Linked DNA regions of Homo sapiens: region 2 is linked to region 1. Evidence: promoter capture Hi-C in 16 types of primary human blood cells and fetal thymus (Javierre and others, 2016). All regions are on one chromosome and are shown on one strand. Each heading gives the region's core, a stretch centred on a gene start or on the middle of the fragment in contact. The rest is flanking DNA. Distances are from core to core; before and after follow the strand shown.

What was found. The method cuts DNA at HindIII sites, captures the fragments that hold promoters and counts their contacts. A CHiCAGO score of 5 or more calls a contact.
Region 2: a contact is called between a fragment that was not itself captured here and the fragment with the promoter of SLC35A1 in region 1, in 1 of 17 cell types (naive CD8 T cells). The highest score is 5.3, in naive CD8 T cells.

What each region holds. Positions count from the first base shown.
Region 1 is chr6:87,471,552-87,476,979 of GRCh38, reverse strand. It overlaps SLC35A1 (solute carrier family 35 member A1), which reads right to left and starts at 4,006. Exons shown (of 8, transcript NM_006416.5): 1 at 3,961-4,006. The coding sequence starts at 3,976. It overlaps LOC124901357 (a long non-coding RNA gene), which reads left to right and starts at 4,035. Exons shown (of 2, transcript XR_007059668.1): 1 at 4,035-4,207; 2 at 4,482-5,428. RefSeq lists enhancers at 3,138-3,237, 3,288-3,457, 3,453-4,359 and a silencer at 3,908-4,047. The HindIII fragment of the contact is 12,962 bases long and covers 1-5,428 here.
Region 2 is chr6:88,753,032-88,758,459 of GRCh38, reverse strand. All of the region lies in intron 13 of RNGTT (RNA guanylyltransferase and 5'-phosphatase), which reads left to right. Among named protein-coding and RNA genes, the nearest start is that of RNGTT, 210 kb to the left of the region's middle. The HindIII fragment of the contact is 6,935 bases long and covers 1-5,428 here.

The DNA.
Region 1 (5,428 bases), core at 2,757-5,256:
TGGCGCGATCTCAGCTCACTGCAACCTCCACCTCCCAGGTTCAAGCGATTCTCGTGCCTCAGCCTCCCGGGACTACAGGCGTGCACTACCACAGCCAGCTAATTTTTTGCATTTTTAGTAGAGATGGGGTTTCCCCATGTTGGCCAGGCTGGTGTCTAACTCCTGACCTCAAGTGATCCGCCCACCTCCGCCTCCTGAAGTGCTGGAATTACAGGTGTGAGCCACCGTGCCAGACATATATTTTAGGACAGGGTCTCACTCTGTCACCCAGGCTGGAGTGCAGTGGCATGATCTTGACGTGATCTCGGCTCACTGCAAACTCCACCTCCCGGGTTCAAGCAATTCTCCTGCCTTAGCCTCCTGAGCAGCTGGGATTACAGGCACCCGCCACTACACCCAGCTAATTTTTGTATTTTTAGTAGGGAAGAGGTTTCACCATGTTGGCCAGGCTGGTCTCGAACTCCTGACCTCAGGTGATCCACCCACCTCGGCCTCCCAAACTGCTGGGATTACAGGCATTAGCCACCACGCCTGGCCCCAGCACATATTTTAAATATTTTTATGATTACAAACTTGTGGATGCAAAGCATGAAACCAACTGCAGCAATGTATATTCTAGATTTAAAGGCAGCAGAAAGAAAATAATAATTGAGAAATGAGTGGGGCTTAATATAAAACTTTTTCACAATAAGAACTTACAACTAGCCACTCATTTCATTGCATTATACAAAACAATAATTCATAACACAGGAAAAGAATATTAAGAACACACCTCTATAAAACTAGAAATGCAGGAAACATATAAACACTTAATTTAAGAATTGCCTGCAAGTATATCTGAGCAGCAGCCATCTCTCAGGCACCAGAGCCTGTCCAAGACCTTTGGTAAAACCATAAGCAGTGGGTACCAAGTCTCCCTCATACTTCCTTATTCCCAGACCTGCTCGGGTACTGCCATCACCCAAGGATCAAACTATTTCTACTTTCCTCACCCACCTCCCACCTATTGTCCCCCAGTTCCCCTTCACCTCCATTCAAATCTTTAGGCTCAAGGTTAAACAGGGATCAGCAAATTTTTCTGCAAAGGGCCAGAAACAAATATTTTAGGCTTTCCAGAGCCATACTTTGACAACTCCAGGTTAAGAACCAGAAGGACACCAGGTGACTCCAGCCTGCTACTTTAACTACATTATATGCTAAGTAAGATTTTGTTCACTGCTTTGGGAGCCTAATCACAATTCAAAGATAGTTTTCATAGGGAAATAAAACAGGAGTTTCAAACAGATTATCTTTAGATACAGTATGGTTGGATCTTACAAGGAAACAGGTTCTTCAATATAAATATTTTCCCGAGTGCATTAAAGAATATTTTCTGAATTGTAGGCAATTTTTAAAAACCATATCAGGTTTTAAATAAAAAGTAAAACAGAAGAAATAGTTTTTAACTGCTTAAACTTTCTTTCCAAAAGATCTGAGGAGCCAAAAAATCAGTGTTTATATAAAAGGAAGTGAAGGAGATCACTATAATACTTCCTTTGTTCTAAAACTTTCCTACACAAGGGAAGAAATATGACTTCAAAAATATACAGCAATAACCTTTAATCAGTAGAAGAGAAGGCACTTCCCATCTTCTAGATAAAGGGTGAACAAACTATATATGTCGCCAGTTTACATGAGGCCTGTGAACTCACGATTGTTTTACATTTTTAAATGGTTGATAAAAAATGTAATAACATCTTGTGATATGTGAAAATTGCAGGAAATTCAAATTCTAGTGTCCATGAATAGTTTTATTAGAACATAGCCATGCTCATTTGTTTCTAAATTATCCAGGCTACTTTTTTTTCCCTACAACAGCAGATCTGAGTAGTTATGACAAGAGACTATCCAGCCCTTCACAGGAAAAGTTTGCCATCTCATGTCCTAGATTATCAACACTTTCATAAATAAGAGAAGTTAGGGCTGATAAACTAAAAAGTACTTTATTTTAGCTACTGTACAGGTTCCTGATTCCAAAAACAACAAAGTGAATATTTAAACACTAAACCAAATATTGATAGCCTACAAACATATTCTGACTTATAATATTGTCATTAACTTGAAAAAATACCTTTTTGCATAGTGAGTATATGGGAATATATATTATATTCTTGAAAATAACTACTGATCTAAGTGGAAGGGTAATCAAATAAGTTTAGGTATGTGCAAAACAGATTGGGCTTTGACATGGAATACCAGTTTTTAAACGTATTTCAACTTTTAAATACTAAATGTTTTTAAGTACGATTTTCTCTGGCAGTTTAACATCAGACCAAACTATTTCTTGTTCACTCCATTCACAAATTCTCCAGTATAAAACTTCAGTTATTAGCAATTTCAATTATTTCAGGGTAACAGCAAAAGTCCATATGTAATCACTTCAAATTGGGCAAATAATTCAAATCACACCCAATGCCAGTAACTATAAAGCTAGCCCACAACTCAACTGGCAGCCACATCTTAACCCTGCATTGTTCCCTGCTTCTCACGAAATTCTATTAGCTCCCATATAGTGTTTGTGTGGAAATGTCCCCCAAAAGAAACTTACAGTTTAAAATGTTTTTTTTCGGTTATGTTTTACTATAGTTTATGGGGACATTATTTGTAATACTTAAGAACTTAGAAATTCTGTAAGTCCCAGATAAATCCTTTGTGGATATTCGGAAACTATGGAAACTGTAGTTTTGTTAGGATTACAATCAAGGCTCAACAAATATGTATTGGCAATAAGCCTAAACCTTTACATTGTTGCAGCTATTTCAAGTAATGATTTGACTTCTGTAATTTATAAGTTTTCGTTCGGATCAATTTTGCTATCCCCATTCCATTTTAGTTATCAAAACAATTCTATTTCTTTTTCTTTTATTTCCTGTGTTGCTACAAAAAAAGGCTTTTAAGATTGGACTTATTTGAAATGAAACAGAAAGAAGACATAAGAGAAGCATATGCAACTAAAGACAATGCCCCTGGGCAGGGCCTGATGAGAAACATGGACCCCGCAACAGGGAAAATAACTTGAAACCCACGCAAGAAGATATTCCTTATGTATTCGTTCAATATTTATTCAAGGGTGAAGCCAAGTGCTCTATGGAGGAAGGGTGGAGCAAGAATCCGGGTGTTGCCCAACTTCTCCTGGTTAATGCACCACAGTCAAAGAATCCACCTCTGGTCCCAACTTACACACACTGCTCAGCAAAAAGTGGTGCGGAGTCAATTAGACTCGCCCTCCTTAAATGTCAATTAGTCAACAAATACGCCTTCACCCGAATGTGCCATCCCTCAGGAGGAGGGAGGTGGATCTCAGCTTCCACCCCAAATAGCAGCATACAGCATTCTCTATAATTACACACAGCATACAGGTGGGAACTGTTAACGACTGTTATCTTCCTTTCGTTACGATTTCAGTGCTGTTTTGACGCCCCAGTGATGTCTTTAGTGGTTGTTGCATGGCCCAGCCGCCGCATGGGATCTGCGCCCGGAGCCTGCCTTTAAGCCTCTGAGCATCCACAGGGTAGGAGGCGCAGAGGAGACCGGAGCCGCGGGGCCAGGGTGAAGAACTGTCCTGCCTCGCTGGGTAATGCGGTCCAGCCCCGGACCCACGCCCTGGCCTCTCTCCGGGTCCGCCGCAGCCCCGGCCTGTCAGAATTCGGTTCCCACCCACTCCCAGCTAGTGGAGGTCAGTGCGGTCTCTGACTCCGACCTGCCCAGCGCGGAGTCAGCCGCGGAGACTGCAGCCGCAGCGGAAGGCAGGCTGCCCTGACTGCCGGGAGCGGCTCCACGCAAACTCCTGACGCCTCAGCCAGGCCCCAGAGGCACTGGGCAACCAGGGTGCTCCGCTGCCCGACAGGGGCTGACCAGCGCAGATGCTCGCCCGCCGCCGCCCCCCGCGGACTCCCCACTCCCAGCAGACCCAGTTCTCACCTCTCGGGGCAGCCATGGTTCCCCGACAGCCCCCCGCGGAACTGACGCCCGCCCCCTCCGCGCCCCCGCGCAGGACACCGGGGACCGCCCCTTGTGGTCATAGAGACGAAGCCGCTCGGCCTAGAGCGCCTCGCCGGCCTCCCGGTCGGCCACGCACTAAAACTGGGCTCAGGAATCCAAGCTACACCCCAAAATGGGGAGAACGCGGATCGAAGGGAGGCCTTCCCGGCCGCGTCCTAGGTGACAGGTGTGTGAAATTCGGTTGGGGAGGTAGTTCTGTAAACTGCGTCTCCCCGCCAGCTAAGGAAGTTGAGTGAAGGGAGCGTTGCCGTCTGGGAATCGTAGTCCTCACAAAGGCGTGAGTAGGCGGCAAATAAGGATTTGGGTTTAGCCTTGGGGATTCACTCCTGTCAAAGCTGTTAGAGAAGCTCCCAGAACTCGTAAAGTAACAGAAACTACTTGCGGCAACATTTGTAACTTCCACCTGGCTCATTATCTTCCACTGTTACCTTGTGTTCTAGATAAGTTATAATTTATTCTACATATCGTTCAGAAGTCTTGTGCCTGTTCCATATCGTCAGCAGTCATCGGTTGTATTTACCCAGCCAGGCATTCTAACTAATGATCTTCGCACAACAAAACGGCCTTTAAAAAATCAGATGTATCGGCCGGGCGTGGTGGCTCACGCCTGTAATCCCAGCACTTTGGGAAGTCGAGGCAGATGGATCACCTAAGGTCAGGAGTTCGAGACCAGCCTGGCCAATATGGCGAAACCCCGTCTTTACTAAAAATACAAAAAATTAGCCGGGCGTGGTGGCGCGCACCGGTAATCCCAGCTACTCAGGAGGCCGAAGCGGGAGAATCACTTGAACCCGGGAGATTGCAGTGAGCCGAGATTGCGCCCCTGCACTCCAGCCTGGGCGACACAGCGAGACTTCGTCTCAAAAAACAAAAAAAATTAGATATATCAACAGGCATTTTAACCACTATAATCTCCACTTTCACTAGGGGATGTTAATTAGCTATCATAATTGATATTAGAAATAATTCATTGGTGAAATAAATGATGTTCAAGATATGTGGATTGGTTTAAAATAATATGAAAATACCTCAGCACTTACAGGAATAGGGATGCAAGATTCTGAGCTGCCCAGCAGCCCACACCTTCTGCAGCATGTTCTTTCCCCAAAATTGTCCTTTTAGAGGGTTGGTTGTATACCATTGTCTTGTTAAATATACATATAGATATATCTGGTCTGTTAACATTGTTGGAACATTTTGCATGCCTTATTAGCATCATATTAATATTGGGAGGGGCTCCCAGGAGACCAGAGTTGACTTTGTAGAGGCAGACATTTGATTAATCTCATTTTGCAATAGTGTTGGACTTTTCCTCTACCTGGTAGTAAGTGTGCTCACTGGTGCTAATCTTCCCTTATTGTAATTGATACAGTTTCCACTAGTAGAA
Region 2 (5,428 bases), core at 742-3,241, 1.3 Mb before region 1:
CTACCTGGAGCAATAGACACCTTTCGACGAAAGTATAATAGCTCTGAGGCTTGCCTTGTGTACTTGACTATCCCCTTCTTGGTTGAGCGTTAGTTCATTTATTCCTTTCTGTGTACCGGGCACTGGAGTGTATTCAGTGATTATTTTCTAAATTGAATTTCTGAATTACAATTATCACAGCAGTTATAAAATTAATTTTGGTAATTTCTTATCAAAAATTGTAATTATTAAGGAACAATTCACAAACACTTTTGCCAAACGTTAATCACTTAAGGGCTTTTTGTTTTTCTCTCTCTTACGAGGAGGGAGCATTGACCTTTTAAAATGAAGCAATATAGAGACAAAGACTATCAAATAAGTAAAAACAATCTGAGATAACTGAATTTGAAGCACAGAAGAAAAAACAGATATGAAATCATTTAAAAATAGTTTTGAAATCTTTTAAATCACTTAAATAACCATGTGTCTGATGTATGGTATACTGAAACTTAAGATAATGCTTATATGACAGATGAAGATTGCCTAAGACTGTTACTTAAACATGTAACAATAGGAGTAAAAGTTGCTTTTTGGAATCTGAGGTTGGAAAATTTCAAAGAGTTTAGAATTAACTTTCAAAAAATTTAGCTACATGGTTGGCCTGTCAAAACTTATAGTGTGACTTCAAATCTTATAGTGTGACTTCAAAATATGTCTTTGTCTTTTCAACCAAATGTATTTTGTTATGTTTTGTTATTTGTTCCTACTTTCATTGAATTTAATCAGAAAATTTAGTCTGTAAAATCTTTTGAAAACATTTTGTTAATCTTGTCTATAACATCATATGTTGTCTTTTCTGGATATTTCTTAGACATAACAACAGTGAAATTATTTTTACTATTTAAAGAATACAACATTTTCTCTTTGATTATGCAATTAAGTATTAAAGTTTATATTAGTAAATTCCTTTACTCTCTTTACTAGCTCTACCCCATATAAGAGATACTTGAAGCCTTACATTATAATTAAGTTTGCTTTGCATATTTAATACCTTTGTATTTAGATACTAGGTTTGATTTCTCCAGATATACAATTGATATTTCTGTCACCCAAATCATGCTTTTTGTTATTAAATCATGTACTTCTTTTTATTGCTTTTAATCCTAAATTCATCCTAGCTTGATACTAATACTACCTGTCCTGCTTGCTTTTCCTTGAATTTGTTGTGGATCTTTTCTCCCATTCATGTATCTCCATCCTTTTTGTTTCACTGTGGTAGGTCATTGCCAAAACTATCATGCTGAGATCCTCTGGTTTTCGGACATAGCAAATACATGATCACATATCCTCAGGGACCAGTAACTGATATACATTTATAGTGTATCAGTGTGTGGTTACGTGTTTGATGACTAGTCCTTTTGTGAAATTAGTTGGTAATGTAGCAGTGTGGCATAGTGGATGTTAGTTGTTAAAACTGAAAAGTGGTTCATTAAAGACAATTTGTTTTTTTGTGATAAAATTGTGTAATTTTTTTAGGGTTTTAGTCTGAGGATACAAGAGTCATAAAAAGCTAATAACCTTCACTCTCCCAACCTGTCCATCCAGCGTTTTCCTTGACCTTCACTCTGGACAGTTTCCCCGACGTTGCTAGCACTTAGCTCCAAGTGAACAAACTAGAGTAAACCCCAAAGCCATGTTTTTTGAGTTTTCCTGATTTGATGCTGTCTTGTTAAAACCTGGAGGTTATCTATTAAGAATGTAATTATAAAGCATAATTTGTATGTAGTCAATATAGTCATTATTTTCAAGCATCAAACTCAATCCTTCATTGGAAAAATTCCTTTACTTTCTAAGTGTGTACTTGAAAATATAGTTGGTTTTATTTAACTCAGTCTGTAGCCTCTTATTTTTAACACAAGAATTTAGTCCATTCAACATTTGTATGCTAAAGTATGTCGCTTTATTCCTTCTACTTTGTTTATTAATTTTACCTCTTTTTTGTTTGCTTGAGATGGAGTCTCACTCTGTCACCCAGGCTGGCATGCAGTGGCATGATCTTGGCTCACTGCAACCTCCGCCGCCCTGGTTCAAGTGATTCTCCTGCCTCAGTCTCCCGAGTAGCTGGGATTACAGGCGCGCACCGTCACGCCTGGCTGATTTTTGTATTTTTAGTAGAGATGGGGTTTCACCGTGTTGGCCAGGCTGGTCTTGAACTCCTGATCTTGTGTTCCCCCTGCCTCGGCCTCCTAAAGTGCTGGGATTACAGACATGAGCCACCAAGCCCGGCCTAATTTTACCTCTTTAACTTTCCTTTTTAAAAAATTGTTTCTGTGTGATAATTGGTATTAGTTGCATTTTCCTCTTTGTTAACCTGAACTGTCTATTAACTTTTCATTATATTATTGGTTACCTTTCCTTTCCTTATATTCATAATCAGATATATTTCTCTGTTATTACTTGAAAATAAAGTACCAACTCTCCCCCACCAAGATGTTCTTTTTTTTTTTTTTTTTTTTTTTTTGAGACGGAGTCTCACTCTGTTGGCCAGGCTGGAGTGCAGTGGTGTAATCTTGGCTCACTGCACCCTCTGCCTCCCAGGTTCAAGCAGTTCTCTGCCTCAGCCTCCTAAGTAGCTGAGATTACAGGCGCCCGCCACCATGCCTGGCTAATTTTTGCATTTTTAGTAGAGATGGGGTTTCACCATCTTGTTCAGGCTCGTCTTGAGCTCCTGACCTCGTGATGCACCTGCCTTGGCCTCCCAAAGTCCTGGGATTACAGGTGTGATCCACTATGCCCAGCCTCAAGATGTTCTTTTCATCCTCCCCTCATCATATAGAAATTTTAGAATAGTTTCTAATACCTTACCTTTCTTCTTACTTTAGAAGTCTTTGGCATGCTTTTATTCTCACCACCCATTCCCCCCTAGCTTTTATTGGAAAATTTTACTGGAACATTTTCCCCAACCCAATCCCTACAGGTATTACTGAAAAAACTTAGTAGTTTTTTTTTGTCGTTGTTGTTTGTTTGTTTTATGAATTTCTCTTACAGACATGAATGTCACTTTTATTTCAAGAATTTTTTTGTTTGGATCTTGTTTTGTTTGGATCTAAATTGTTTGGATCTAAATTTAAATTGGGTTCAATTTAAATTTAATGGCATTTATATACTGCAAGATTTGTCACCTACCACTTTTTCCTTTTCTTCATTTTCTCTTTCTTGTTCACATTCATTTGTTCTTTGGAGTAATTTTCTCAGATGGGAATATATAGATTTTTAATCTGAATTTTTTGCCTAACTGCTAACGTCTTCCTTTTTCCAGACAGGCAAATCATGTCTTACCTGGATATAGAATTCTTGGGGTGCAGTTCTTTTCTCCTTCTAATTGCCTTTTGGCTCCTTTACAGGTTTCTGCCAAGACCAGCTCGGTCATGGAGACCCCAACCCAGTGGCGCTAGAGAAATTAAAGACACACACAGAAATATAGAGTGTGGAGTGGGGAAATCAGGGGTCTCATAACTTTCAGAGCTGAGAGCCTCGAACAGAGATTTACCCATATATTTATTGACAGCAAGCCAGTGATGAGCATTGTTTCTATAGATTATAGATTAACTAAAAGTATTCCTTATGGGAAACAAAGGAATGGGCCAAAATAAAGGGATGGGTCTGGCTAGTTATCTGCAGCAGGAACATGTCCTTAAGGCACAGATCACTCATGATATTGTTTGTGGTTTAAGAACGCCTTTAAGTGGTTTTCCTCCCTGGGTAGGCCAGGTGTTCCTTGACCTCATTCCAGTAAACCCACAGCCTTCAGCGGGGGCATCATGGCCATCACGAACATGTCACAGTGCTGCAGACATTTTGTTTATGGCCAGTTTAGGGGCCAGTTTATGGCCAGATTTGGGTGCCTGTTCCCAACAAGTTACTTTATTCCCATTTTCCTTATTGGCTCACTGGGGCTCAAATCTGGTTTTTGGAGTGCTCTAAGTGGTGGCAGTCTACACAAGAAGGAAATATATGTGTTCTTTATCTTGGTGGATCATAACTGGAGAAATGTTCCCTACATCCTCTACTCTGTAAAGTGTTTCATCTTAGGCTTCAAATATGTTCAGCCCATAGGAAGGTCAGGCACATGACCTGGGGCCAATGTTGACCTGATCTCTAGGGTTTTTAGATTTCAGTGGCCTGTACTCTTCTCAGGATTTGCTAATTTTCCAATCTTTGTCTTTAGGGTCTTCTCAATCATTTCCCCTGCTAGGAAGCCCTCGAATTTCATACCTCACTTTACTCAGTAGACACTTGGATTCACAGGCTGATATTTTGGAGTTGGGTATGAGGAGAAGTCAGACATGTTTAGATTTATCATCTTCCTAGGATCCTTAATAGTTTATTTTTAATTTCCAAGTAGTCTTTGTCTTCTCTTTTTTGACTTTATTGTTTCTTTTCTTATTTTATAAATTATGACAAGAATGTTCTGAACAATTCCCTTCTAGGGAGGAGATGGGCAGAATAAAGATTTTCTTTATGGTCTAATGCCATATGTTCTATTTTAACTTCTATTTGTAATCATCCTTACATTTGTCAAGGCCTTTTTAACCCGTACTTTCTAAATATCTGAATCTAGAGTGAAACCCTGTCCCTAGTAAGAAGCTCAGAGTATTCAGCTACTCCTCTGTTTTTGCTGCTCTTTGTCAGTATAATCTATGATTTTAGATAAAATCATGTATATTGTGTTTTTATTTTCTTTCAAAAAGTTTTCTTGCATTTATATTTTAATTATATAATTCTATTTTTAACAATTATTTAAATCATTACTATTTAAACGGTTGCATTTTGGGTGGATTAATATTTAACAATTATTTAAACTTTTCTGTATTTTAATTGGAATTGGTATTGACAGTCATTTCATACCCAGCTTTATTCCTTTTTCAGAACTTTTCTATCAGTTCAAGTAGTTTTATATAATTTTTTTTTTTTTTGAGACAGGGGTCTCACTCTGTTGCCTAGGCTAGAGTGCAGTGGTGTGAACACAGCTCACTGCAGCCTCAACCTCCCAGGCTCCAGCAGTCCTCCTGCCTTTGGGCTCCTGAGTAGCTGGGACTACAGGCACATGCCACCACACATGGCTAATTTTTAAATTTTTGTAGAGATAGGGTCTCACTGTGTTGCCTAGGCTGTTCTCAACTCCTAGGCTCAAGCAGTCCTCCTGCCTCAACCTCCCAAAGTGCTAGGTGTGAGCCACTGTGCCTGGCCTTAGATTATGTTGGTAAGGAGTAAGTTTATTATTTTTTCATAACCATTATTTCTTCTTATGTCTTCCTAAACAGGAATGTTTCCATTATGGTGTAATTTGCAAAAATATATAATTACCTTAATTTTAGGGGGAAATAAAAGATAACATTACAGCAGCTTTCACTGATTTGTTTTTTTAAAAGTTAATTTGAAATATTAA